7 separate regions of the Homo sapiens genome follow, and regions 1, 2, 4, 5, 6 and 7 are each linked to region 3. Evidence: promoter capture Hi-C in 16 types of primary human blood cells and fetal thymus (Javierre and others, 2016). All regions are on one chromosome and are shown on one strand. The core of a region is centred on a gene start or on the middle of the fragment in contact, and the rest is flanking DNA. Distances in the headings are between cores, read along the strand shown.

Region 1 (3,112 bases), core at 285-2,784, 1.9 Mb after region 3:
TGGAAACATACATGAAACTGGTAGCGCTGGCTATCTCCCAGAATGGGCCTGGGTGTCTGGGAGCCAGGGAGATTTTTACTGAGTATCTTTCCCTTTGCATTTTCTAGCATGTAATTAAATACTCTATATTTAAAGAAAAAAATTCAAACCACCATCAGTTACCTTCTCTGGGTCAATCTTGTCATAGAGTTTCAATACGTAAAGAACACGGTCCTGGATGCCCTCTAACGTCAAAGGAGGCATGTCGCTATACTGGCGGCACAACTGTGTAACTCTACCAGGAACCTAGAGCGACGGCAGGAAGGAAACACTGTCATTGAATGGAAAATACCTCTAAATCAATGCACAAGCCTATAGGTAACTTTCACAGAACTTTCGGGGCTTTAGAGAACCCACAGCATCTGATTCTCATTGTGGCCACCAGGACACACTAAGTTGCAGGACTGGGTAATCGCAGAAGCCCCAACAGTTCAGCAGCATCTCAGGCCTCCTTCCTGGGAGTCAGGACCGGCCCCTCTGCCTCCTGGCTTCAACCCTCAGGCTCTGGACATTCATACTGCTCTGCGACACTAACTGCCACTAAAATTGTCTAGCGTCTGCAGAATGCCTGTGTCTTCTCATGGCATCTTCAGCATCCCGAGGCCTCTACAGGGTGCTGCCACCTTTAATAGGCTGACCCAAGTCAAAATAACCCAAAAGGAAAGAGCTGTCATGGTAAACCCAAAGGCAATTCAAATTGAGGACCATACACCAGAAAGGTCTAGTTTGGTTCCAGCAGTTATCTCCCTGATCTCAGCCAGGACAAAGGAAGCTGGCCTCCCACCCAAAGAGGGGATGAGGGAGCTTACAGTCACTACATTCCAATCTGTTTCCCTTCCAGCGAGGCTTGCCTCATGGCCACCAGCCAAACCATGAGCCCTTCTGGCCTGTGCCATGTTAGAGCAATACCTCACGTATCTCTGGTATTAGTCGGCTCAATGTTTAGGTATTAGGGTATTGACCAGATTTCATTCAACAAATGTGGAATGAGCTGCAATTACAGGTCAGGGGGTTTAATGCTGTGGAAGGTACGACGCAGAATCAGAGAAAACAAAACAGGGTATCTGGCAGTTTTGCTCACTACTGAAATCCCTAATCTGGCTAGTCGTGGTGGCTCACGCCTATAATCACAACACTTTGGGAGGCCACGGTGAGCAGATCACCTGAGGTCAGGAGTTCGAGACCAGCCTGGCCAACATGGTGAAACCCCGTCTCTACTAAAAATACAAAAATTAGCCAGGCGTGGTGGTGGGCGCCTGTAATCCCAGCTACTCAGGAGACTGAGGAAGGAGAATCGCTTGAATGTGGGAGGAGAGGTTGCAGTGAGCCGAGCCTGCGCCATTGCATTCCAGCCTGGGCGACAAAGCAAGACTCCGTCTCAAAAAAAAGAAAAAGAAAGAAATCCCTAATCTAAATTGGTTTGTTTACCTCCTGAAGTTGATTTTAAGTCCGAGGCTTGGCGTTCTTCAGGCATTTCCCTATAGAAAGTGGGGCTGCTTGTTAGGGCTCAGGTCCCTGAAACTCACAAAGGTCCATGAAAAATCATAATAAATACTGCCCAGAGAACCAAACCAGTATAACCTCTGTAGAAGAAACATTCATCTTGCATAAAGAACAGGTATTGGGCCGATGTGTGTCTCACACCTGTAATCCCAGCACTTTGGGAGGCCGAGGTGAGCCAATCACTTGAGGCCAGGAGTTCGAGACCAGCCTGGCCAACATGGTGAAGCCTCGTCTCTACTAAAAATACAAAAATTAGCTGGGCGTGGTGGTGTGTGCCTGTAATCCCAGCTATTCAGGTAGCTGAGGCATGAGAATTGCTTGAACCCAGACAGAGGTTGCAGTGAGCCGAGACTGTGCCACTGCACTCCACCTTGGGCCACAGAGCGAGACTCTGTCTCAAAAAAGAAAAGAAAAAGAAGTCAGTTATTAAAATCAGGTTTAGGCTGGGCGCAGTGGCTCACACCTGTAATTGCCACACTTTGGGAAGCCGAAGCAGGCGGATCACGAGGTCAGGAGTTCGACACTAGCCTGACCAACATGGAGAAACCCCGTCTCTACCAAAAATATAAGTTAGCTGGGCGTGGTAACATGTGCCTGTAATCCCATCTACTCAGGAGGCTGAAGCAGAAGAATCGCTTGAACTTGGGAGTCGGAGGTTGCAGTGAGCCAAGATCATGCCATTTACACTCCAGCATGGGTGACAGAGTGAGATTCCGTCTCAAGAAAAAAAAAAAAAAAATCAGGTTTAATCAGCAAACTAAAGAGATGAGTTGGAGAGTATGATAGATATTCTAACGAGCCTTTCTGAGTACTTTCAAGAGTTTTAGAGCATGTTTCTTTGTCTAAATGTCTAGTCTCCTTTCGTATTATACATGGGTTAAGGAGACCTTTTATACAGGCACATGACCGGCCTACTTAACAATGACTCAAATAGGTTTCCAAGTCACAAATAAAATGGAGAAGAAAGGAATAAAGAGAAAGGGGGAGAAGAAATGAGGTAATATGGCAATGGCAGAAAAGAAATTTCAGTTGGAGGGATCTAACAGAGGCTGTGTGCTTATCAAGAAATGGTACGAGGCCAGGTGTGGTGGCTCACGCCTGTAATCCCAGCACTTTGGGAGGCCAAGGTGGGCGGATCTCTTGAGGTCAGGAGTTTAAGACCAGCCTGCCCAACACAGTGAAACCTCCATCTCTACTGAAAGTCCAAAAATTAGCCGGGCATCGTGGCGTGTGCCTATAATCCCAGCTAATCAGGAGGCTGAAGTGGGAGGATCACTTGAACCTAGGAGGCAGAGGTTGCAGTGAACTGAGATCATGGCTCTACACTCCAGCCTGGGCGGCAGGGTGAGACTCTGTCTCCAAAAAGAAAAAAAAAAAAAAAAAAAAAAAGAAATGGTACGATGCCAGGTGTGGTGGCTCACGCCTGTAATCCCAACACTTTGGGAGGCCAAAGTGGAAGGATCGCTTGAGCCCAGGAGTTCCAGACCAACCTGGGCAACAAAGCAAGACCCCTGGTGAGGGTATATTCTATGTTCGTACACAACTACCCATGAGGCCAACTAGGTTGTCA
Region 2 (3,158 bases), core at 120-2,619, 1.1 Mb after region 3:
AATGAATGGCTAGATTAGAGGTCCTGCTGTTTTAAAAAGTTAATAAAGCTGAAAAAAAAAGCACCATTCTTTAAATACTCCATATGGTGTGGTATTCTGTTTGTAGGAGGCACACAAACAATAGCAGATTTGAAGCCCCATTTCAGGCTCACTATGGGGTCTGCACATATTGAATGAAGTGGCAGGCAGAATTGCCTGTATTATTTAAGTTATTATTTCTTTTTCTTAATTTTTTTCCCCAAATCAAAGTGGTTGGATTTGCAGAAATTAAATGTGCATGTGATACAACTCCACAGTTCTAGACAGACCATGAAAAGTGCCTGGCACTTACATTTTCCCATCCTGGGAAAGCCCAGCTTGCCTCCGAGCCCATCACTGTCTTTGGAGGAATTCTTGATGACTGAGTCCCTATTCTTTGCATCACGTGAACAACGGGTTATTGCAACCAGGTTGTATACTGTACAACCTTTGGGGGTGCCATTCACAAAGACTGTAGTGTGAATGGTGTCCCTGGAATTATGCAGTACACAACCTGCACAGCCTAATGTGCTGGCCCTTATTGTGCCCAAAGGCAGTCAGGAAGCCCCAAAAATCTGCTCCAGGCTGTTCACTGGGTGTGTGGAAGGTACACTTACGTTATTGTTTTCAAATAACACAGCAGTGAAAAGCCAGACAAATGAAATACCCAAGAGAATCCGAGTATCTGTATTTCCAATTACACTGAACATGCATTCTTCACCCACATAAGTGCCAATTTGTATTATTCTAAGTTCCACTGAAATTGGCCCAAGCCCCTGGGGCACTTCTTGCCTAGTTTCACTTGTTACCCTGGGATAATTGGTTTAAAACTGATTACTGGGTCACTAATTATGGAGCCTATTGACAGTGTATTTCAGCTTAGGGAAGCAATTAAAAAGTTCACCCTAATTAATCAGGGGTAATTAACAGGTCTTAAATTTCATCAAGAGATTAATTATCAAGAAATCCAGAACAAATCAATGTGCATTCCAGGAGGGTGAAAGAGGACTTTATCATTGGAGCTGGAGGTTATTTGGATTATCCATTCATTCATTTAACAAATGTTTACTGAGCACCTACACGGTGCCAAGCACAGAGCCTAGTGGCTTTGCAGTTCCAGTGGCTTTGCTGATGTGACTTCCCATTAGACAGGGAATGGTGGAACATGTGACCAGGCACTTTTTCAAATGGTTGCAGAGAGGCTCCCTGAAGGCATAATCACAATATTTCAAGTTAATTGTTTTGAGCACTTATTACGTGCTATGTGCAGGACTAAGAGCTTCTGTCTATTATTTCATTAAACCTTCACAATGACCCTATTATGTAGAAGCTATTGGTTATCATCATTTAACAGGTAAGGAAACTCAGGCATAGCTGGGTTAAGAAACTTACCCAAGAAGACACAGTTAGGAAATAGTAGGGCTAGGTTTTGAATCCAGGGAGAGTGACTCTATGCTTTGGTACACCTCTCAATGTGTCAGTGTTCTGAGAAAGGATCAGGTTAGCCTTTCCCCAAGGGAGGTTAGTGGAAAGACAGCCAAATAAAGTGAAGTGTGGGGCTCTAGAGTCAGACTACCTGCGTCAAATCCTGGTGCCACTGACTAACCATATGAGCTTGGGCAAGTTCACCCCACCTCTCTGTGACCCCACTTTCCTCTTCTGTAAAATGGGCATGTAATGGTACCAACGACACCATGCTAATTTAAGGTGATGCATGTAAAACATTTCAGATCGTTCCCGGCACCTGGTAGCTGTTGGGGCCATTTACTACTGCCTTCTTGCTGAGCCAGGAAGTTACTGTCTTAGCTTTTTTTCTATCAGCTGGCATGATTCTGCCATACAGATCCTTGTTTGGGTTTTAGGAATGATTTTCTATTTAGTTTGGGAGTGTGCTATGATCTGAATTGTGCCTACCCAAAATATGTTGATGCCCTGATCCCCAGTGGGATGGTATTTGGAGACGGGGTCTTTGAGAAGCAATTAGGTTTAGATGAGGTCATGCAATGGAATTCGTGTTCTTATAAGAAGAGACATCAGAGCATTCACATTAATGTTCTCTTTCTCTCATTCCTGACCATGCTGGCACTCTAACCTCAGACCTTCAGCCCCCAGAACTGTGAGAAAATACATTTTTATTGTTTAAGCCACCCAGTCTAGGGTATTTTGTAGTGGCAGCCTGAACTAATACAGAATGTTTGCTAATTTTCCAGAACTGATTGCTTGGGGCCACTTCAGAGGTTAAGCTACCAGACATCAGAGTGTCATTCCCATCACTCTAATACAAAAATGATCTGTTGCCTGCAAGGCAACTTTGATAACAGGGAGTATGGCAGTCCTAGAGAGTGACGCTTCTGTAAATTCTATCCTTGCTTCTTTTCTGGGGCTGAAAAGTAATAGATCAGGCACACAGAGGTGGAGGCAATGGGCTCTTCCCAGTGCAATGCTTTGGTGATGTCCAGAGACCTATAGAGGTGAGAAATACTGAAGAGGACATCCGCCATTTTTGTCTGTCTAGCATCAATCCTAATTCCTGTAACTACACTCTGGTTTTTCTCTGATGATGTTAGAGTACTATCAGTAAGGAGATGTGGGCTGCAAATAGAGCCCAGATGTCCTTGTGTTCATCTCAACCACCAGCCTGAGACTACAAAAATAAGGATGCACTTCCTAGGTCTGACCGACGGCCACAGAAAGTTTATACAAGTTATGGTGGTCAGGAGTGTGGCAACTGGAATCAGATGGCTTGGGTTCAAATCCTGTCCCTGACACTGCCTAGCTGGGTGACTGGGTAGGTTACTTAACCTTCATGACTTAGCTTCCTCCTCCATCAAATGGGGATTCAGTTTGCCAAGAGGATTCAATGACACTGAGTATGTAAAGTGAATAACTCAGTGCTTGGGACATAGTGATCACCCCGGATAGCCTTTGTTGTTATATAACAATCCCTAGAACCACTTGCCAAGATGAGGTGAACATTCAATTTACTCCTAGAGTTCCTTTCCCAAAACAGTCCTGAAGACTCTTAAGGTCTTCTCCCCACTGTTTTCTGCCTTATATATCAGGGAATAGTCAGAAAAATACTTATGAACAGAGAAGGTCAATAAACTTGGAATGACTTTCAGTTCTGTAGTCTCTGAATC
Region 3 (3,091 bases), core at 277-2,776:
GTGTGGTGGCAGATGCCTGTAGTCCCAGCTACTCGGGAGGCTGAGGCAGGAGAATGGCGTGAACCCGGGAGGCGGAGCTTGCAGTGAGCCGAGATCTTGCCACTGCACTCCAGCCTGGGTGACAGAGCGAGACTCCGTCTCAAACAAACAAAAAAGCCATATTGAAAGTAGGAAGAGAACTAATTCTTGACATTTAAACAAAGCTGTCTCTCTATCTAGTAAGTAAGAAGTAAGTAAATGTCTTGCTCTGTTGCCCAGGCTGGAGTGCAGTGGCACAATCACAGCTCCCTATAGCCTGAAAGTCCTGGGCTCAAGTGATCCTCCTGCCTCAGCCTCCCAGGTGGGTGGGACTGCAGGTGCAGTGCAGGTGCCATCACGCCCAGCTATTTTTTTTTCTTGTGTAGAAATGGGGGTCTCATTATGTTGTTCATGCTGGTCTTGAACTCCTGAGCTCAAGTGATCCTCTCACCTTGGCCCCCAAAGTGCTGGGATTACAGGCATGAACCACCACGCCCAGCCCAAAGCTTTATTATATTAGATTTCAAATTTCTAACATATCAAAGTAGCGAAGTAGTACAGTCAACCCCCTGCCATCACATGGCTTCGACCCAATCTTGTTTCTTTTCTCCTCCCACCTACTCCCTCACTCCCATATTATTTTAGAGCAAATCCCAGCCATTTTATCTGCATCTTTCAGAATATATCTCTAAAAGACAGGAATTCTTCTTTAAAATAATGCTAATTAAAATAGTCTATGAAAGTAATATATACTTATTAGCAAAAAACAGGTTATTAAAAGTAGAAGCAAAAAGTCACCCATAGTCCTTTTGCCTGAAATAACTCCCATTAACATTTTGATATATTTCTTCACAGATGAGAAAAAATTAAGAACTTTCCCCCCTTCCCTGCCCTATAATCCAAATTGTGTGGGCAAATCTGAGATTACTAGATGTATTGGAAATCCTTTCTCTTTCATAGATAAAAAAACAGAAGTAGACAGAATTTTAAAAATAGATATACTATGGGATGGCTATTGGAGTCATGGCAGTTTTTTTTTTCTTAAATGAAAAGTACTTTTATAGAAATTGTTCTTTGAAAATATTCAGCAAATAATCATTTATTGCTTTCTATGTGCAGATCAAGTTTGTATGATAATTAAATTATTGATAACTTATACCTACGATTTTAAGAATATTTTCAACCCTTTGGTCAGATTGTCTCCAATTAGCATAATAGCAAAGAGACTTTTCAAGGTTAATATGAAACTTTTTCTCAGCTATTTTTTTATTGTCTATTTCTCAGGGGAAAAAGGAAACTTATCCTCTTAGGCAGTTTTCATAATGTTATACATTTAAAAATTAATCTGAAGGAGCTTAAAATATAAATGCATTAGGTGAAAAATAGCAGTTGATTTAAATAAAATGAAGGAGGAGAAGAAAAAGAACCTTACCGACACAAAATAGAATGAGATTGGTTTGCAGATGGCGAGCGATGTTGCTTCTGCTCGCAGTCCCCATTTCTGTGTATGCCGGGGCGGGTTGGGGTGTGTATTTGAAAGGAAAGTTGGCTTTCTTTTTTCAGAAGGGAAGAAGAGCTGAAGAGAGGAACCTCTTATGAAGGAACCATAATCAGGAACTTTTTGAAATTGTGCAAGGATGGCTTCACCATTTAACATTGAGATTTTGGCCTGGAGCACATTTAGAAATGTGCATATCTTTTTTTTTTCCATGGATTTTACAGTTGTCATAGGTGTTAGATGTTTCTGGGTGAGATTTTGATTTACACCTAGCACATATTTCCAGGAAGGAGTATTGTTTGACAAATAATTCGTACTTGGATTTTTCAGAACAGTTCAGTCACTGTCTAGGGTACCTGCTCTGGGTGCCACTCTGGGCCAGTAACTGCTGGGAACAAAGAACAGCAGAAGGAGAAGTGGCTTTGTGTAGAGATGAGAAAAGTTAGTAAACAACACATTCTAATGCAGCGAATAAATAAATTGTCTGTTATTAACTTTTTGTACTCCAGTTTTGAATCCAAAGACACCTGCCTTCCCCCCTTTTTTGACAGGGTCTCTATCACCCAGGCTGGAATGCAGTGGCAAGATTGCAGGTCATTGCAGCCTCAGCTTCCTGAGTAGCTGGGACTACAGGCATGCACCACCACCCCTGGCTAATTTTTTTTTTTTTTTGTAGATTCTGTGTTGTCTAGGCTAGTCCTGCCCTCAAGCGATCCCCCTGCCTTGGCCTCCCAAAGTGTTAGGATTACAGGTGTGAGCCACCATGCCTGGCCCAAAGACCCCCTTTTAATGTGTTGAGAAACAAATATGTGGGCCCTCTGTCCTCTGTGTCCTCTCCCCCAGCACTTAGTGGTGATTCAGTAAGGGTCTTCTTTGTAAAGCAGCAGAAACAGACTCAGGCTGACTTAAAAGGAAATTTATGCAAACATTTGAAGGTAGATCCTAGAGTCACTGGGAGGGCTAGTGAATCTTGTGTGGGGTCCACAGCCAGGAAGAATGCCTCAAATCACACCATAAACAGGTCTGAAGAGGATGCTACTGCCACTGCCAAACACTAGGTGCCATCAGCCCTGTTGTCAGCATCGCTCAACCACTGCCCCAGCCCCTTGGTCTCACTGCCATTGCTCCACCCCCAGAGAAGGAGAAGCTCACATCCCCACTACTCTGGGTCACTGGCTCTCCATTCCAGGGCATGGGCAAGTGTGCCTGGCTTAGGCTGCGTGCCAGTGCCTCAGCTGCACGGCAGGCCAGGAAAGCGGCTCCCAGGCCTTGTGTCTCTCCCAGACTCTGGGCAGGCAATTCCCCAGACATGGGAAGAGCGTCATCTGCACCACTGAAAATTATGAAAAATCTCCCCACCATGATATGATGTCTGTGCCCTTGGCATCTGCTCATGATATATTTTCTCATTAACAGAAAGTTATTCTCAGTCTGTTTTGTTTTTTTTTTTTTTTTTTTTTTTGAGACAGAGTCTCGCTCTGTCGCCCAGGCTGGAGTGCAGTGGCACGATCTTGGCTCGCTGCAAGCTCCGCCTCCCGGGTTCACACCATTCTCCTGCCTCAGCCTCCCAAGTAG
Region 4 (3,060 bases), core at 436-2,935, 1.5 Mb after region 3:
TCCAAGGGACACCCTGAAGTCAGTGTGCTTTGTGGAAAACACTGAAGTATCAGTATACTAAAGAGCTTGACACTAACAAGAAAAAAACTGTGTACCATGGGTTTGCAGCATAGCACCAGAACCCCCAGCATGAGTGCATGGAAAAGCAGGCTGGGAAACTCAGCAAGTGTGAGCCTCTGATTGCCAGGTTGTTCACCACTAGTCTCTTATACAAGTTTATTCCTTTTGTGACTTGAGAATTCTCACTAATAAATAAGCACCACAAGGCACCAAAGTTCAAGGAAAAAAAAATGGGAGAGAGAATTCTATTCATCAATTACCATTTGTTTCACTGCAAATCTGGAAGGAGTCCCCACAATTCTTTTATCAATAGATCACTCTGTGCTAGCTGTTCTTTGCCAGCACAATTTAAAAACTGCTGCCATAAAATTTATCTTTCTTGCTTGAAAGATGACCATCCATCTTTTTACTTGCTGCAAAACGGCTCTGAGCTCTAAAACTCAGAAAGCATTTGTAAGAATCTGGGGCACCCATGCTCCTATGAAAGCAATAAGCTGATTCCCTTTAAAATGGCATATTATGTATTCAAAGTGATTTATTTACTCTCACTATTTTACTAGGAAAGTGATGCAAGGGTCCTGCCAGTGAAGCCCAAGTTTTACCCTAGTGCTGCTGCAAACACATATACACACTCAGAGACAGAGAAGGAGAAAGAGAGAGGGAGAGGTTGGGGGGGGGGAGAGAGAGAGAAAGAGAGAGCGCGAGAGATAACAAGGTAACCATTTTAAAGGCTGGGGAAGTAAAAGGAAACTTGCGCTGAGTCTCCAAACTTTCCTCCAAACAGTTTCTCAGCCTCAGCACTACTGACACTTTGGGGTGAAAACCCTTTAGTAAGGGGGGCTGTCCTGCACATTGTGTGACATTTAGCAGCATCCCTGGAATCTACCACCACATGCCAGTAGCACCCTGATCCCAGCTGTGACAACCAAGTAGGGTTCCAGACATCGACAAATGTCCCAGGGGGTGGGGGCAGGGTGGGGTGAGGACAGGCAAAAGTGCCCGTGTTGAAAACCAGTGCTCTAAGAGTAGGAAACAAACAAACAAAAAATCTGTGTGAAAAGAGAAAGGATAAAGGTAATGGCTAGAGACATTTTTTACAGCATATCAAGGTTGAGCTAGTCAACTCATTTCATCCTGGGAAATGAAAACCCAACTTTAACAACCATCTAGCCCATCCAAAACCAAAAACCATCTACTTGGCAAGCTCCTAAAACTCAAATCAATGTGGTTAAAAAGGAAGAAAGAACTCTAATTGAAAAACTTACAAAGAAAAGCATTAGTAACTTAAAGTTTTAAGATAATAAAAGCACAAAGACATAGTAAGTGCTTTTCTAACCTCAAGGTAACTATCTCAAGATGGCAAATTGGTTTTATCTCCTCTGCCAACTTCAACTAGGTGGTGGTGGCTGCCTGGAGCCCTTCTAGAACTGAGCAGGATTCTAAGGCTGAATGTGAGCGATGTGAAAGTGAAGAATATCTGAATGAAATAACGATGTCCACCCCAAGCAGGCGAAGCACAGTGAGGTATGCCTCAGGTCCACCTTCTGGTGTTTACCTTTCTTTTTTTTTTTTCCTTTTTTTGAGGCAGAGTCTCACTCTGTCACCCAGGCTGGAGCGCAGTGACATGATCTCTGCTCACTGCAACCTCCACCTCCTGGGTTCAAGAGATTCTCGTGCCTCAGCCTCCCGAGTAGCTGGGATTACAGGTGTGTGCCACCACGCTCGGCTACTTTTTGTATTTTTTTAGTAGAGATGGGGTTTCACCATGTTGTCCAGGCTGGTCTGGAACTATTGGTCTCAAGTGATCCACCCACCTTGGCCTCCCAAAGTGCCGGGATTACAGACATGAGCCACTGCGTCCTGCCTTAGCATTCAACTTTCTTTATATTCAAAATAATACCCATCAAATTTAGCTAAAATAAAACCTTTTTTTAAAAAGTAATCAATTTGCCAGAGTTACCTAACCGGGGGAATAAAAAGGGGAAAAGAATCTAATTATATCACTTCCTTGCTTAAAAATCACCTCTGGATTTTCAACTTGCAGAGGATGAAATCCAAACCAGCATAGCTCACGAAGCCCTTCACAGTGAGTTTCCAACACTCTTCTCCCAGGCTTCCTGCACCCCCACTGCTCTCTATGGTGCAGCCAGCCACTAAATGTCTATTCCCCAAAACCACACGCCCTTTCATGCAACTCCACCACTTCCTTGCCCTGCAAATTTCTATTCATCTTTCAGAACACTGCTCAGGAGCCACCTTTTTGGTAATGCTTTCCTTGTTCCTTGATGCCTGCTATACACAGGATGGTCCTTGAGCCAAAAGCACTGGCATCACCAGGGAGCTTGTTAGAAATGCAGAATCTTGGGCACCGCTCCAGCTCTACCGAATCTCAATTTCCTTTGTAGCAAGATCCCCAGGTGAATTATGTGCACACTGACGCATGAGAAGCGCTGTCTCAGGGAACTTCCTAGATCCTACTCGACTCAGCTCTTCATAGCTCCCTGGGAGGTAAACCCCTCCTTTACTCATCTCCTCTGTGAAGACAGGAAAACCCAAATGCCCACCCTCCAGCCTCCGTGACAGCCAATTGACATGGTTATAGCCAATGAAATATCAGCAGAAGCCTGCTGAGGGGGCTTCTGGAAGAATTTTTATTTCCCTAATGACTTCCTGCCGTCCTGGGTAGAATGCCAGGTGCAGTGGCTGCCATCACTGGACAACCATGAGGTGACAAACCTAAGAACAAAAAGCCAATGATAGCTAAAAAGACAACAGGTGGAAATACAGAAATGGTCTGAATCCTTGTTGGGCCCAACGAGCCACTGAACCATAGAACCATCCACCTCCGGAATCACTGTGTGTGCCAATTGCCAATTGCAACGTTTTCATTGCTTAAGGCACTATCATTAGGGATTTTCCTTTCTTGGGCTGAAGGCATTCCTAACTGATTAAGTAAGCCTTCAATAAATGGGAGGTGAATGAATGAATGTAGAGTGAAAC
Region 5 (3,183 bases), core at 4-2,503, 1.8 Mb after region 3:
AACCTTAGTCAAATTCATTCCAGCAAATGACTGATGAACATCTGAAGAGTGATTCACAACTATAGTAAAAAATAAAATATGGGGAACGTGACACTAAACCACTCGTAGATGACCTGCTTCTAGGTTGGGGTTTCGTACATAGCAGAGCAGCTCCCTCACTGCAATCTATTTCAATAGCTCTCTATCTGAGTGCTATTGAAAATCAGCCCTCAACACAAGGGTTTGGAGAAAAAAAATAAATAAATAAGAAAAAAATAAATAAAATAAGCCACACTAGAAACAGGCCCAGTAAGTCATTACTGCAAAGTAAGACAGGCTCTTCCCCTGCTTACAAGAGGTTCTACTGTGCCTCCTGTCTCAAGGCAAGAGAACAACGGTTTAAAACCTTTATGGCTGGAAATGCCTAGAGACTTGAGGAAAGTAAATGATGGATAGTTGCCACTTGAAACAAAGTTCCTCTGTCTCTCCTCACTCCTAGTCAGGGGGTACCTTTAAAATTATCTCTTCCCCTACTTCTTGGTGTATCATGAGAACAAGGGAGACTCACTTCAGGTAGGTAAATTTTACCTGAAGTAAAGATAAAAACATTCCTGTTCATTCGAACACCACCTGACGAGGGGCCTCCTGCTTTTAGATGGGAAGAAAATGGCCTTCAGGAATTCCACAGGCTCCCTTGCTGGACAACAGGCGGCATTGTCACATTAGGTCCTATTTAAGTTATAGATAAGAGTGGTAAGAAGAGTTTCAGTGGAGACCTAAAGATTTCACTGACGTGGATTTCTAAGCTTATCTTTTAAACTTAAACCATTTAACTGGTTATCGTTTTTTCTTTTGTTGTTTGTTTGTTTGAGACAGTCTTGCTTGCTCTGTTGTCCAAGCTGAAGTGTAGTGGTGCGACCATAGTCACTGTGGCCTCAACCTCCTGGACGTAAGCAATCTTCCTGCCTCGGTCTCCTTAGTAATTGTGCCACCACACCTGGCTAACTTTTGCATTTTTTGTAGAGTTGGGGTTTCACCGTGTTGGCCAGGCTGGTCTCGAACTCCTAGGCTCAAACGATCCGCCCACTTCGACCTTCCAAAGTGTGGTGATTACAAGTGTGAGCCACCGCACCCGGCCTAACTGGTTATTTTTTAACCCCTTGAATGACAGCAACAAACGGGGAAGTTCTTTGAGCTGTGCTCTGCAGTTGAGGGTGGCCACTCCCGAGGCAGTCACCCGTTCCCTTGTCACCACAGACTCTGTTCTCCCTAGAACAAAAATGAGCTGTTACCTGTGTAGCCCACTGGATTTGTGTGTGCCAAGCACCAAGCAAGGCATCATAGAGTCCGGTAAGCTGCCGGTCCAGGGATAGGTCACTTTGACACAGCTCTTGCCAGGCTGCTAAAAGCTGCACCTGCAGAGACAGAACAAAGGGAACCTTATTGGGTACGTCAACATAGGTTGCCTGTGAACACTGCCCTGCCCTGCTACCCAGCGTAATCACGGATTGCTCAATGGGCTCACTGGGCAGCCCAGTGAGGTCCATTCACTTCAAAGAAAGGCAGGAAAAAAAAAAAAACATTTGCAGTTATCTGCACTGATTCACAGCTTTAATCTGTCACCCTGCGGATGTGATCCCCTCTCCATTTATCCTGCCCTAAAAACATGTAATGTGCAACCACTTGGCACACCATCACTCTTCTGAATAGATGTTGGGGCAAGAGCGGGCAGACATGTATGTTTAAGCTTCATGTCCTAACATCACTGCTTAAAAGACACAGAGCACTGGACTTGAAGGAATTAAGGTCAGTTCAGGAAGCTGTCAAGTTTTTTGGCAATCTAACTTCAGCAAACCTAGAAAACATAAAATTCCAAGCCAGGTGGAGTGGCACGCGCCTGTAGTCCCAACTCCTCACAAGGCTGAGACGGGAGGATCACTTGAGCCCAGGAGTTCAAGGCTGTAGTGCACCATGATCGGATCTGTGAATAGTCACCGCACTCCAGGCTGGGCAAAATAGTGAAACCCTATCTCTAAAGAAAAAAAGAGAAATTCTTACTGCCTTCTGAGGGTGTAATAAAGCTTAAGACATAAATCTCCCTTAAAAGACAAAAATGAGAATAAATTAAAACAACGTTTCAAGTCTATAATGAATCCAGCTGTAAACAGAAAAGAGAATGAAAACGGATAACTTTTTCCAACTGGCAATTAAACAAATCCATATGCTAGACCAAGAGCACCCCCTACTGGCTAACTAAGAGAAAAACAGCCAGAGGGCAAGGAGACAAATGTTCTTACCTTCTGAATTATGAACCTGCGATTCTGTGACCCAGAGTTATGAGCATTCCACAACTGCACAACTGTCATCGCGCACAGCTTCTTACCTTGTGACACTTGTAGTAGTAGGCCAGGAGCTGGGGCATCCGGTCAATTTCAGTAAACACCTTCACAAACACTTTGGACTGATCTAAAGAACATACAATGTATATATACTGTTACCAGCCTTTCTGGTGTAGACATGAGAAAAAACTCACCAGGATGAAGGTGGATATATGGAAGCTAGTATTCACAAGTTCCTGCCTAGATACTGAATTAACTCATGCATGAGGATCATAAATTTGAAAAATAAGCATGACGTGAAAACCAGATACTGCAAGGTATTCCCCACTGTTCCTCACAGAATTCATATTTTAACATGATACTGAGAGGTTATTTATGTCTTTCAAAATTCCTACTTCGATTATACCAGATGGGAACTTTAAAAAAGCAAACACACTGAACTGCTATATGTCAACATATCTGGTGGTTTGAGGAATAAGTAAATAATTTGGGCTGGTCGCGGTAGCTCATGCCTGTAATCCCAGCACTTTGGGAGGCTAAGGCAGGCGGATCACCTGAGGTCAGGAGTTCGAGACCAGCCTGGCCAACATGGCAAAACCCCATCTCTACTAAAAGAAAAACAAAAATTAGCTGAGCGTGGTGGTGCACACCTGTAATCCCAGCTCCTTGGGAGGCTGAGGGAGGAGAATTGGTTGAACCCGGGAGGCAGAGGTTGCAGTGAGCCAAGATCGCGCCACTGCACTCCAGCCTGGCCAACAGAGCAAGACTCCCTCTAAAACAAAGCAAAACAAAAAAACAAAACATAAAATCAAATAATTTGGTAACTATTAGCATTCCACACATAACAATGGATTCTAAGACCCAA
Region 6 (3,144 bases), core at 331-2,830, 1.3 Mb after region 3:
CTCTGCTGGAACCTGGGGAAGTGCCAAATGGTCATTCATTTTAAAATTTATTTAATTGATACTTTTTCATTTATTCAATTGATTATGACAAGCACTGTTCTAGGCTAGAGGGATATCACAGAAAACAAGATAGCCAAAGTGTCTCCTGGGCATAACCTTTTAGAGTAGAGGACATAGGATAAATAAATAGGCAAATAAATTGATGACATAAAGAAAAGAAAGAACAGTAGGGGGATACAGAAGGATGAGGGGCTGTATTTTACGTAGGCTGATCAGGGAAAGTCTCCCTGATGAGGTGACTTTAAGCAGAGATCAGGATGACAAGAAGATGGGAAGGGAATAACATTTCGGGCAGAGAGAGTAGCAAGTGGGATCGCACTGGGTGAATGAATAACTGAAAGGAAGCCCGTATGGCTGAGTGGCAAGTCCTGAGGACAAGAGGATAGGAGATGAGGTCAATGAGACATGAAAGGGCTGGAATCTGTAGAGCCTCTAGTCATTGCAGGAATTCTGACTCTCTTCTAAGTGCCATGAGAAACCATGAGAGAGTTTTAATCAGAAGAGTAACATGATTTGTTTCAGAAAGATCTCTCAAGTTCAGTGTGCAAAATGGATTGTAGGGGGAGAGATGAGCATGCGACCAAGGCCATCTGGGAGGCTGGGGCAGTGGTGCAGGCAGGAAATGATAGTGGCTTGGATCAGGGTGTGGGCAGCAGAGATGGAGAGAAAGGGACACATTCAGTATGTATTTTGGAGTTGGAGGCGGCAGGTCATGCTGAAGCACAGGATGTTGAGGAGGAGGGAAAGAAAGGAACCAAGCATATTTAAGACATTGTCCCTATTCTAGAGAAATCCACAGTAGATTACAAAAGACCCCTTCCCACACCCAGGCAAAGTAGAGGTCAAGGTCTCATCTATTTCACACTCACACATCTTTATTATTATCAGTCTCTAGTCTTTGCTCTAAGAAACTTCTGAAATCCTTTATTTTCTATTAAATGCCAAGGACCAGTTTCTTATTACCTGGCTTGGAACTTTCCAGAAAGATGTATGTTTACACGCTCTGGTTGCCTGCTCATGACAATCTAAAGCTTAGATTTCTACCCAGGTGGTCTCATGGGCTGGAAAAGACTTCCACCAAACTGGGATCTCTTTGGGTTTGAGGAAAAGCAGCCTCGGTAGTGGAAGGGATAGTGGTTGGATTTCAACTCCAGCATCCCAATGACACCAGCCTCTGCACAAATTCTTCCCAGCGATGGTGAGCTCATTACCTCCAAATGGCTTTAATCACTTTGACTACTAGCTCAACTTCCCTGGTGAAAACTGTTCTGTGAACCAAATATGAGAGTTCATACATCTCTTACTTGAACTTATTTTTCTTCAATGCAAAAGGAGGTGGAAGAAGATCAGGAATTGAGGTCTTGAGAAGAAACAGAGATTGAATAGTCCCTGGACAGTGTCTTCCATTCTCTCTCAGTTTTGCTTCATTTACTAGATGACCCTTTCTGAGGGAAGATGAGAATAACCCTCTATACATGCAGTGATGACAAGGTGCATTAGTCAGCATAAGCCAGTTGCTGTAACAAACAATCTCAACATCTTAATAACAATAAAACTTTGTGTCTATCTTGCTTAAACCACAGTCTGTGGCAGGGTAAAGATGGCCAAACATTCTTTTTGGCCATTCTTTTGGTTGAGAGGGGAGATCCTTTTCCCTTCCCTGGAACCTATGATCAAATCTATGATTGATTGGATCAAAGAAATTTGTCAGAAGAGATGCTGTGCCCTTTTTAGGCCTTTAAGAGAGGCCAGACAGCCTCTGCTTGCACTCTTGAGGGGATGCTTTCCCCATGTGAGAAGTCAGATTACTCTGAAATTACCATATTGTGAGGAAGCTGAAGCCAGTCACAAAAAAGGCCACGTGAAAAGAAAGTGAGTAAGAGAAAGAGAGGTGCTGGCTGGCACCCAGCTGTTTCAGCCATCTCAGCACAACCCCCACACATGTGATGAGAGAAGCTATCTGGGACATTCCAGTCCACATCTCTGTGCCTGTCTCCCTCATCCTAGCTCAAGCTTCAAGTAACCCCCAACACCATCTTTCTTGGCTATCACCCAGATAAGATGGCCCCAGCTTCTGTGAGCAGGAATTCAGACAACAGAGGCCTCATGAGAATAGCATGGGCTTCTTTAGCTTTGTAAAGACAACATCTCCACGTGTGTGTGTGTGTGTGTGTGTGTGTGTGTGTGTGTGTGTGTGTGGTGTTAATATGTGCAGGATGTCCAGAGGTCAGAGGTAACCCCAGCAAAACCCCCAGGAAAACCATGATACACAAACTTGCTGTTTTTTTTTTTTTTTTTCAAAATTGCTCTATTTTATTTTATTTTATTTTATTTTTTTGCCCACAGCTTTATTCAAAATTTCTTTCTTATAGACACTTTGGTTGCTTTTCCAACCAAATTATTATATTAGCCATGGGTAATTCACTTCCCAATTGGTCTCTGTTGCTCACATTAACAATTCTTACTATTTAGTTACTGAGTTCTATTGGGTGCATTGCAGTGACTAGCTACAGAGCATGCTGTTAAGACCCAAACTCAAAAACCCAAATTGCCTAGGTTTGAATTCAGGCCATGCCACTTATTACCTGCGGGACCTTGAACAAGTTACTTGACTTCTCTGGTTCTCAGTTCTTCATCTGGAAATGTGGATAATAAGACTACCTACTTCACAGAGTTACTGTAGGGATCAAATGAATTAATATATATCAAGCAGTTAGTACGGTGTCTGGCACAAATATTAACTTTTATTGATAATGTGAATGTGACCAGCAAGGATGAGGTGCTGAGTTGTGATTGGTTGAACTGGCTTAGAATCTGATCGATCCTAATGTCCATGAGTGTTGGTGGTTCTTAGATTGGGTTCCCTAGGAGCCTCAAAATAATGATTCATCTGAAGGTAATTTACTAGGCATGCTCTTAGGAAAAGCCTGCAGGGGAGTAGAAAGTAGGACTGGGAAGGGAAGGAATGAAGTCAGGATGTGGCATCAAGCAGAGTAGATTCTGCTTATGCAGCAGAACCTAATCCTAACAAAACAATGATGCATGGTCACAGCTCTGTGAACTCCACTGTATCTGTATTAGTTA
Region 7 (2,823 bases), core at 100-2,599, 1.2 Mb after region 3:
CTGACACACAGGGCCATGGGGGGCTATAGCAGAATTTACCCAGAACTTCCCAGTGATAATCTAGACGGGCAGTTTCTGGAACTGCAAAGGGCGTTCCCTCGTCACTGGAGTCGTTGGAAAAGGATTATCTCCAGTCAAACCTAAGTGCCAGCTAAAGGGCTAACTCCCTCTGTGACCAGCCCTTAGGGTGCCCAAGGAAGGGACAGGCGAGGACCTGTGCTGCCTGAACACGGCACCATCCTAACCCTCTGTAGGTCTTTGCTGGTACCCAGCCCCTGAAGGACCCTGAGAAAGATAAGGCAGTTCAGAGACCCCTTGCAGCAAGGCTCTGTTTGGGAAAGGTCCCCAGAGTTCAGGCCAAATGACAGTGCATCGCCAGAGGTCTCCAGTAAGAAAGATGCCTTAGGGAGTCTCAATCTCAAACCCAGGTATTTGCTGCTGTACTGGGGCTGAGACCCCCAGTAGCTCTGGCCCTGGTAGGTGGTCTTTGAGTAGTGGAAAGAGCCCTGGATTCGAGTCTTGGGTCTGTCACTTAAGCTTGAGCAAGTTTCTTAAACTCTATCAGCCTCTATTTTCTCATCCATCCCAATGGGCAGGAAAACAGCCCTTGCCCTGTATACCTTCCAAGGCTTTTCTGAAGTGCCTTAAAGGTGTAAAAAAGGCACTTCACTTTAAGTGATGCTTCTAAACCAGCAGCCAAAATGTGGAATTTGAAGGTGGGCCCTGCGGGTGAAGGCTAGCAAGGGTGCTAGGGGCAGCCAGTCATGCATAGACTGTCTATGCTTCCCATGCATGCCAGGGAGGAGAATTATCCCCACTGGGGGAGTCAAGGCACAGACCAAAGCTTCTGTGAGGTGGCAGCGTCCACGCCTCAATGCCTTTCTGCCTCCCTAGCCCTGTATGGTGCTGAAGTGTAGGACTGGCCCACATGTGGGTGGTGTAATGTCCCGGCTCCCTGTTAACACATAGGTCACAGAATTCTCACAATTCACCTGACCCTTTGAAGACTTTCTAGAAACATCTGCATAGTAATGACGTTGGGGAGGGGTAACATGGTAGCTGACAGAGTAGCTGAGGCTAAATCTGCTGTTTTTATCTACAGCTTTAGGCAGTAGAGGTCATATGCATATTGGACAAGGGACAACTTTGTTAGAAAGAGGACCCCACTGGGCTTATAATAGAGGGCCCTGGATTTACCAAAAGTAGGGGGACCGCAGGCCTGATTTAGCACCTTTGCAGGTTACTCCTGGCTCGCAATGGTTGTAGTTGTGGGGACGAGTGGGTCATGCATCATCCTTAGCAGGCAGACACATAGTCTGTCCCCATTGCAGCCAACCAGGGGCTAGCTAGCCTGTGGGTGGCCCCAGCACCATTATGTCTGGTTAATAGGGTAGGGTGGCACAGAGTGGCAGATCTGGCTTCATGCCAATGCCAATAGCCCACTGTGCTTTCCAAGCTGTGACTCATGGGCATCCCGTCTAGGTGCATGTGGACACTGTCTGAGTCAGATCCCGGGATGGAGGAGGCAAACACATTGAACAGCAGAGCCCAGAGTGGGTCAGCCATGACCACATTCGAATGCAGGCCAGCATTTCCTCGATGGAAAATCTGAAGATCATTATGACACCTTTTGCCAATGCGAAGTGCCTTTTAAGTGCAAAACAGCAAAATTCTGAGCATCTGGCTTTCAGATAGTGTGCCCTCCAATAAATACCTATGCCCTGAACCCAGACTCTCCTCCCTCCCCTCTCTTCCTTCCACCACTAAACAGCATACCTCAGGCTTCCATCCTGGAGCCCATGTCATTCAGGGATGGCTGCTTTTTATTTTTAACCTTGGCATGTGTGATTCTAAGCAAGCTTAGCTGTGAACCTTAGAGAGGGAAGCCATGTCTTATTTTTTATTTATTTATTTTTTTTTAGCACATTTGGATTCTGCTAAAATTCTCAGCTGAGTCTTGGTAGGTTTTATTTAACATCAAGCATGCTGACAGCTCTGCTTCTCTCTTCTCTCCCCCTCTACCACCTTTCCCCACTTTATATTTCTAAAAGACTATCCTAGAGGTCTGGTCGTAATTGCCCTCTCCCCATTGCTTGACCAGGAAGGCTGGGAGGCTCCAGTGTCAGGAAAAGGCTGTGTGGTTTGTGCTTCTTTCAGTTACAAATCCACACCCCTAGAGTCAAGTGTTTAGCTTGTGGATTGCCATTTCTGTGCAGGGTAATACTACCCCACTTAGATGCTGTTTCCATAACCTCCAGAACATCTTTCTGTATGTAAAGAACATTTTTGTACATTTCTTTTTATTATGACCAAGTCATACACATTAACTGCAGAAATCATGGGGATTTCTGGAATCTTTTAAAACCCATGTTCTTACTTTCTTCCTGAATCCCATGAGCTAGGTACGGTGGGTGACAGGATGTTCCGCTCTCTGTCCACTGCCTTGTCAGTTCACAGCTTGCCATCATAAAGCCAGGGTCCACTGGGCAGACATAGCCAAAGAACCCTTGCACCCATTGGAGTGGACTGTGCTTTCCAAAGGGGGAGGTGCAGAGTTGCAGGCAGTGTGGATCTTAGTATGATCTGCCCACATCAAAGCCCCTGGTGATAACTTCCTGATCAGGAGGCTGAAATCCAGATAGTGGAAAAATCAAAAGCTTTACCCTTAACCCAAAGGAGGGGCTTCTTTCTGTGGGTAAATGGAGATAAAGCTGAAGGCCGAGTGATATAGCCAGAAAGACACCATCATTTGGAGAGACCAGGAGACAGAGTCTGCACCTTCTTGTCCTTAGCCTGATCCTTCTTGGGAACCACTCCCGTTCA

What was found. Contacts are between HindIII fragments. The CHiCAGO score rates a contact against its expected background, and 5 or more counts as called.
Region 1: a fragment that was not itself captured here is called in contact with the fragment with the promoter of IGSF6 in region 3 in 1 of 17 cell types (neutrophils); the score reaches 5.8 in neutrophils.
Region 2: a contact is called between a fragment that was not itself captured here and the fragment with the promoter of IGSF6 in region 3, in 1 of 17 cell types (erythroblasts). The highest score is 5.2, in erythroblasts.
Region 4: a fragment that was not itself captured here is called in contact with the fragment with the promoter of IGSF6 in region 3 in 3 of 17 cell types (total CD4 T cells, total B cells and monocytes); the score reaches 7.0 in total CD4 T cells.
Region 5: a contact is called between a fragment that was not itself captured here and the fragment with the promoter of IGSF6 in region 3, in 1 of 17 cell types (total CD8 T cells). The highest score is 5.3, in total CD8 T cells.
Region 6: a fragment that was not itself captured here is called in contact with the fragment with the promoter of IGSF6 in region 3 in 1 of 17 cell types (erythroblasts); the score reaches 5.5 in erythroblasts.
Region 7: a contact is called between a fragment that was not itself captured here and the fragment with the promoter of IGSF6 in region 3, in 1 of 17 cell types (endothelial precursors). The highest score is 5.4, in endothelial precursors.

Annotation. Positions count from the first base shown.
Region 1 is chr16:23,587,035-23,590,146 of GRCh38, forward strand. NDUFAB1 (NADH:ubiquinone oxidoreductase subunit AB1) reads right to left here. Exons shown (of 5, transcript NM_005003.3): 2 at 163-285. Among named protein-coding and RNA genes, the nearest start is that of NDUFAB1, 7.7 kb to the right of the region's middle. The HindIII fragment of the contact is 6,808 bases long and covers 1-3,112 here.
Region 2 is chr16:22,752,828-22,755,985 of GRCh38, forward strand. No RefSeq gene overlaps it. Among named protein-coding and RNA genes, the nearest start is that of HS3ST2, 60 kb to the right of the region's middle. The HindIII fragment of the contact is 3,804 bases long and covers 1-3,158 here.
Region 3 is chr16:21,651,082-21,654,172 of GRCh38, forward strand. It overlaps IGSF6 (immunoglobulin superfamily member 6), which reads right to left and starts at 1,527. Exons shown (of 6, transcript NM_005849.4): 1 at 1,451-1,527. The coding sequence starts at 1,517. All of the region lies in intron 4 of METTL9 (methyltransferase 9, His-X-His N1(pi)-histidine), which reads left to right. The HindIII fragment of the contact is 3,735 bases long and covers 523-3,091 here.
Region 4 is chr16:23,142,857-23,145,916 of GRCh38, forward strand. All of the region lies in intron 1 of USP31 (ubiquitin specific peptidase 31), which reads right to left. Among named protein-coding and RNA genes, the nearest start is that of USP31, 5.1 kb to the right of the region's middle. The HindIII fragment of the contact is 4,574 bases long and covers 1-3,060 here.
Region 5 is chr16:23,432,274-23,435,456 of GRCh38, forward strand. It overlaps COG7 (component of oligomeric golgi complex 7), which reads right to left. Exons shown (of 17, transcript NM_153603.4): 5 at 2,363-2,445; 6 at 1,272-1,394. Among named protein-coding and RNA genes, the nearest start is that of COG7, 19 kb to the right of the region's middle. The HindIII fragment of the contact is 941 bases long and covers 784-1,724 here.
Region 6 is chr16:22,943,593-22,946,736 of GRCh38, forward strand. No RefSeq gene overlaps it. Among named protein-coding and RNA genes, the nearest start is that of HS3ST2, 130 kb to the left of the region's middle. The HindIII fragment of the contact is 982 bases long and covers 1,090-2,071 here.
Region 7 is chr16:22,815,211-22,818,033 of GRCh38, forward strand. All of the region lies in intron 1 of HS3ST2 (heparan sulfate-glucosamine 3-sulfotransferase 2), which reads left to right. Among named protein-coding and RNA genes, the nearest start is that of HS3ST2, 2.5 kb to the left of the region's middle. The HindIII fragment of the contact is 1,015 bases long and covers 843-1,857 here.